2 separate regions of the Homo sapiens genome follow, and region 1 is linked to region 2. Evidence: promoter capture Hi-C in 16 types of primary human blood cells and fetal thymus (Javierre and others, 2016). All regions are on one chromosome and are shown on one strand. Each heading gives the region's core, a stretch centred on a gene start or on the middle of the fragment in contact. The rest is flanking DNA. Distances are from core to core; before and after follow the strand shown.

Evidence for each region. The method cuts DNA at HindIII sites, captures the fragments that hold promoters and counts their contacts. A CHiCAGO score of 5 or more calls a contact.
Region 1: the fragment with the promoter of ABRAXAS2 here is called in contact with the fragment with the promoter of FAM53B-AS1 in region 2 in 5 of 17 cell types (activated CD4 T cells, naive CD8 T cells, total B cells and 2 more); the score reaches 9.3 in activated CD4 T cells.

What each region holds. Positions count from the first base shown.
Region 1 is chr10:124,800,393-124,803,188 of GRCh38, reverse strand. ABRAXAS2 (abraxas 2, BRISC complex subunit) reads right to left here and starts at 1,370. Exons shown (of 9, transcript NM_032182.4): 1 at 1,288-1,370. The coding sequence starts at 1,359. RefSeq lists a silencer at 1,095-1,174 and enhancers at 663-1,216, 1,275-1,544, 1,217-1,771. The HindIII fragment of the contact is 5,454 bases long and covers 1-1,926 here.
Region 2 is chr10:124,702,663-124,705,606 of GRCh38, reverse strand. It overlaps FAM53B-AS1 (FAM53B antisense RNA 1), which reads right to left and starts at 1,579. Exons shown (of 2, transcript NR_120631.1): 1 at 1,276-1,579. All of the region lies in intron 2 of FAM53B (family with sequence similarity 53 member B), which reads left to right. RefSeq lists an enhancer at 1-377. The HindIII fragment of the contact is 3,544 bases long and covers 1-2,600 here.

The DNA.
Region 1 (2,796 bases), core at 121-2,620, 98 kb before region 2:
TACAGTAATCTTGCCATATACATAAACTGTGATATTAGTAGGCATTCAAGAAATAAAGGACCCATTTTTAATAGTCCATGGACACTAGGGGTATCACAAACCCTTACATATGGAACTATATTACATTATTAAATAGCTGGTTGTAGTACCCTAGGCCATAGTCTTCAAAGCTGCTTCTGGAAAAACCCATGATGTATATATTCCTATTCCTATCATTAAGTTCTACCATCAACACTGAAGAGATGAAAGGTACAATAATTTAATTGCATTCAATTTACTAATGGAATCACCTCCCTGTGAAATCAGTTTTTATTAATGGAAGCTAAGATTGCTGACATCAAACCAAATGCAGTTCCTCCTTCTGCAGTGTACCATTTTGCTTTGTAATGACAACCAAAAACCCCACACATAGGTTTAATGAGTTTGAATCATTCACTATTAACATCACTTAAAATAATCCCCCAATTTGGTGGCCAAATTATATACCTCCTTTAAGAGAGAAGTGATCTAGTTTCACAAAGCATTTCCAATCAGAGGCCAATGACGTTAAAAGACAATTTGTAAAATAAAGACACTGAAACAGACAGGATCTGCTCCTCCTGTGGGCTCACAGCCTATGCATTTCCCATCACTCAGTAGTGGGCCTGTCACTTCCCTATTTCACTGTGACTAGTGAAAGAACTAGTCACAAAGAACTAAACACGCAACTTCAAGGAAATACAAAATAGACCCTGCACCGAACGCTCCTGTATACATTCTCCATTTTGCATCAGGGCGAAGAAAACACACAACCGTGTCTAACAAGTATCAGTAGTGACAGCCACGGTTTCACTCGCAGCACCCCCACGACAACCTGCGAGACCGGCGGGCGGGGCTGAGTACCTCGCCTACTGGACTAAACGCCCGGCCTTTAGATTCCTTCCCGACCCCGTGCGCCCCTCTTAAGTCTAGAAGCCTGACTTTCAGGGAGGGGCAGGCGCTCGGTTTCCACCGAGCGACTCCTGACACTGCAGGAGGCCAGGTGGGACAGTTTTGCTGCACGGGAGACGGCTGTGCCGGGACGGCCGAGCGGCTGAGAGCGCGAAGCCAGGGGGCCTGTCCCAGGGGCGAAGGAGCCCCCAGAGGCAAGAGCTCACCGGGGGCGGGAGCCGCCCGGGTCACCAGCTCCTCCGGCCGGCCCTGGTGCCCAGGGGGCGAGCCGCATGAGGTCCCGGCTTGGCCGCGAGCGCCGGCCTGAGACAGAGGCTGAAAGCCCCCAGCGGGCGCGGCAGGGGGCCCGGCACCTACGTGGTCCGCGTTGCTGTTGGCGCTGTGGAAACACACAGCACTGAAGGTGTAGCCCGAAATGGACGCCGCCATGATGGAAATCTCCAGCTACCCCATCATGCCCCGCGGAGGGCACACGGCCTTCCGGACGGCCCGACCCCTTGGCATCATGGGAAGTGGAGTCTGCGGCGGGCAGCGGCCGAGGGCCCTGAGCGCTCACAGTCTTGAAGGCTGAGGAACGCCGGTTTTTGCGATCGGAAGGACCCCGGCACCGTATCCTCCGCAGGGGTGTCGCTCCCGACACGCCTCAGACAGCGGTTGATAGTTCCGCAAACAGTTCTTTCCCTTTGCAAGTGAAACCTTAGTATTAAAAGACAACATTCTAGCCGGGCGCAGTGGCTCACGCCTGTAATCCCAGCACTTTGGGAGGCCGAGGCGGGCGGATCACCTGAGGTCAGGAGTTCGAGACCAGCCTGACCAACATGGAGAAACCCTGTCTATATTGAAAATACAAAAACTAGCCGGGCGTGGTGGCACATGCCTGTAATCTCAGCTACTCGGGAGGCTGAGGGAGGGGAATGGCTTGAACCCGGGAGGCGGAGGTTGCGGTGAGTCGAGATCGTGCCATTGCACTCCAGCCTGGGCAGCAAGAGCGAAGCTTCGTCTCAAAAAAAAAAAAAAAAAAAAAAAAAAAAGGCCAACATTTAGGCTGAGCGTGGTGGCTCGCGCCTGTAATCCCAGCACTTTGGGAGGCCGAGGTGGGCGGATCACGAGGTCAGGAGTTTGAGACCATCCTGGCTTACACGGTGAAACCCCGTCTCTACTAAAAATACAAAAAATTAGCCGGACGTGGTGGCGGGCTCCTGTAGTCCCAGCTACTCAGGAGGCTGAGGCAGGAGAATGGCGTGAACCTGGAAGGCGGAGCTTGCAGTGAGCCGAGATCGCGCCACTGCACTCCAGCCTGGGTGACAGACCAAGACTCCGTCTCAAAAACAAAACAAAACAAAAAGCCAACATTTGAGGCCGGGCGCGGTGGCTCATGCCTGTAATCCCAGCACTTTGGGAGGGGGGGGCGTGTGTGGGGAGTGTTAACCTGAGGTCAGGAGTGTTATGCGCGTTTGTGTGAAGAGACCACCAAACAGGCTTTGTGTGAGCAACAAGGCTGTTTATTTCAACTGGGTGCAGGCGGGCTGAGTCCGAAAAGAGAGTCAGCAAGGGAGATAGGGGTGGGGCCGATTTATAGGATTTGGGTAGGTAGTGGAAAATTACAGTCAAAGGGGGTTGTTCTCTGGTGGGAAGGGGCGGGGGTTACAAGGTGCTCAGTCGGGGAGCTTCTAAGCCAGGAGAAGGAATTTCACAAGGTAATGTCATCAGTTAAGGCAGGAACCGGTCATTTTCACTTCTTTTGTGATTCTTCAGTTACTTCAGGCCATCTGGATGTATACGTGCAGGCCACAGGGGATATGATGGCTTAGCTTGGGCTCAGAGGCCTGACAAGGAGTTCAAGACCAGCCTGGCCAACATGGTGAG
Region 2 (2,944 bases), core at 330-2,829:
GAAGCTCGTGGTCTAGAGGGAGGGTGTCTGGAGAGCTGTGAATACAGTGACACTTGAGGATCCCATGACTAAGAACTCGCAGCTGAAGCCCATGGGAAGCCCAGGGCTTGTAGAGGAGCAGGGCCAGCCTGGCTGTAGCACGCCAGGGAAAGCCTTGCGGAGCAGGGATACTTGATTTGGCCTTGAAGGGTGAGAAGAAGTGGCTTAGAAACCGTTGGGTCCAGCCTCCTTGTTTTACAAATGAGGCAGCTGCAACCTGGAGCAGGCAGTAACTGCCTCACTGGCTCCGCCTCCGCCTTCCCTCCTGCCCCTCTAGCCCCACTTCCTGGGCCTGCATTCAGGCCTCTGCCTGTTGCCTGGTGTCTGGACGCCAGTCTTGGTGGCCCTCCCTCAGTCAGGTCTCTTCAGCCCTTACCAGATGTGACACTGGTGCCACTCTGCTCATGGGCCTCAGCCTGTGAGGTCTCCATGGGGTGTCACCCCCAGCTGCAAGGATAGGGACTCAGCTTTGCTCCTCCCCATGTCCCCAGCACTACTGAGGCAGGGCAGACAGCAGGCACCTGAGGTGTGTTTGCTCGATGGCAGCCTTGGTCACTGCAGCGAGGAGTAGAGCTGCTGTGACCATTCAGCTCTTCTGCTACCACCCCATCCTTTCCAGTTCACATTTGCTGTGTGATGTGATTACTTCTCACCAGCCCCGCTGCCACCACCCTGGTTCCACCTGCTGTTCTCTCGCAAGGATTCTTGTGGTAACTGGTCCCCTGCCTCTGGCTCTTTTTAACCTGTTCTCCACCCAGCAGCCAGAGAGAATCCCAGTCAGAGCTGTCCTTCTCTGTGTAGCAGCTTCCACTGGCTTTACACTGAATGCTTAGCAAACACCCAGCCCTTACTAGGATGTACATGGCCCCATATATTCTTGTCCATGTGACTGCTTTGACCTCATCTCTGCCACTCTGCCCCCTCTGCTCGGTCCCCACTGGCCTCCCTATTCCAATATGCCAAGCGTGAGCCTGCCTCAGGCCTTTGCACTTTTTCCTTGGCCTGGAGCCCTCTCCCCACAGTAGGACATACTCCCTCCCTCCTTCCTTCTCTGGCTACTCAACCTACAGTTCAGTCCCAGCGCCAGCGCCCACCCCTTACCCCCACCACACTTTCTCTCCTCTTTTCCTTTTTCCCTCTTGGGCACTTAGCACTTTTAAACATGTCCCTGTGGATCTTGACCGAGTCCTTATACTAGAATGGGAGCTTTGAGAAAGCAGAGGATGTCTCTCTTACTTGTTGTTGAATGCACGGGGCCCAGCCCGTGGCAGGTGCTCAGTGGATGTTTGTGGATGGATGAGCTTGCAGGTTCCTGTCACCTGGCCTCTTCTCATTCACCATTGTCTTACTCTCTCTCTGGCTGCTGCTCCAGTTCACGACTGAGTGGGTGCGACTAGAGTAGCTCTGACCAAAAAGAAGGGACCTCAAGGGTGAGGAGCCATCTGGAGGTCCCGAGGGAGGAGCCCTACCCGGGTCCAGCTGTGCAGTTGGCTGCAGTGGCCGCCTCTGTGCTTGGTCCCTTCTCAGGGTGGGACTGCCTGGTGTTGGCTTCAGAGTTGGTTCCAGGACATGTGGGCCCAAGGTCAGCTGAGCTGCTCTTCCAAGAGGTGTGGCCTGAGCCCCTGCCAGGAGGAGCACGGCCTCCCAGCCCTGGCCAGGGAAGGAAAACTCATCTCAGAAAGGGAAAGCAGTCAGGGGAGAGCAGGCGGCTTTGCTGGAAGGGATTCTACCATGTGTTCTCTTGTGGCCACACAGATTAGAATCTGTGCTTTCTTCCTGAACTCTCCTTGCTTTGTTGGAAAGTATCCTTCTTTCTGCTGCTTTTTGTTACTGGCCTGTCCGGGCCCAGAACCACCCAGTGTGCAGTGCTTTGGGTCCATCTGTGGTCTTCCTCCTCCTCTTCTCTCCCCTTGGCTCCAGATGAGAGGTCTGTTGTGGGGAGCAGCCCTGTTGGAGATGGGCTTTCTCATTGCTCAGTTTGCTTATGCGCCCAGAACACATTGACTGGGCGTCAGTGCCTGGCCCGGCCTGGCTCAGCGCTGCCTGCGCTATAGCGTGGGCCAGCAGGAAGGTGTTGGAGGTGCAGCTACACTGAGGGTCTTGGGAAGTGTGTTAGTTCATATCATGTTGCTATGAGGAATACCTGAGGCTGGGTAATTTATAAAGAAAAGAGATTTACTTGGCTTATGGTTCTGCAGGCTGTATAAGAAGTATGGCACCGGCCAGGCATGGTGGCTCACGCCGGTAATCCCAGCACTTTGGGAGGCTGAAGAGGGCGGATCACGAGGTCAGGAGATCAAGACCATCCTGGCTAATATGGTGAAGCCCCGTCTCTGCTAAAAATACAAAAAATTAGCTGAGTGTGGTGGCAGGCGGGCGCCTGTAGTCCCAGCTACTTGGGAGGCTGAGGCAGGAGAATGGCTCGAACCTGGGAGGCGGAGCTTGCAGTGAGCCGATATCACAGCACTACCGCACTCCAGCCTGGGCGACAGAGTGAGACTGTGTCTCCAAAAAAAAAAGTATGGCACCTGCATCTGTTTCTAGTAAGGCCTCACGAAGCTTCCAGTCATGGCAGAAGGTGAGGGGAGAATAAGTGTGTCACGAGGTGAGAGAGGGAGCAAGAGGGAAGGGAGGAGGTGCCAGACCTGTTAAACTACCAGCCCTCACATGAACTAGAAGAGCGAGGACTCCCTGATCACCATGGGGAGGCCACCAAGCCATTCATGAGGGATCCGCTCCCATGACCCAAACACCCCCCACCAGGCCCCGCCTCCAGCATTGGGGGTTACATTTCAACATGAGATTTGGAGGGGACGAACATCCAAACTGTATGCCCAGAGGTCCAGGTACCTCCTCCCTGTCCTTGAGCCTCATGCCACCTGCTGAGGGGCAGGGGTGCACCCAT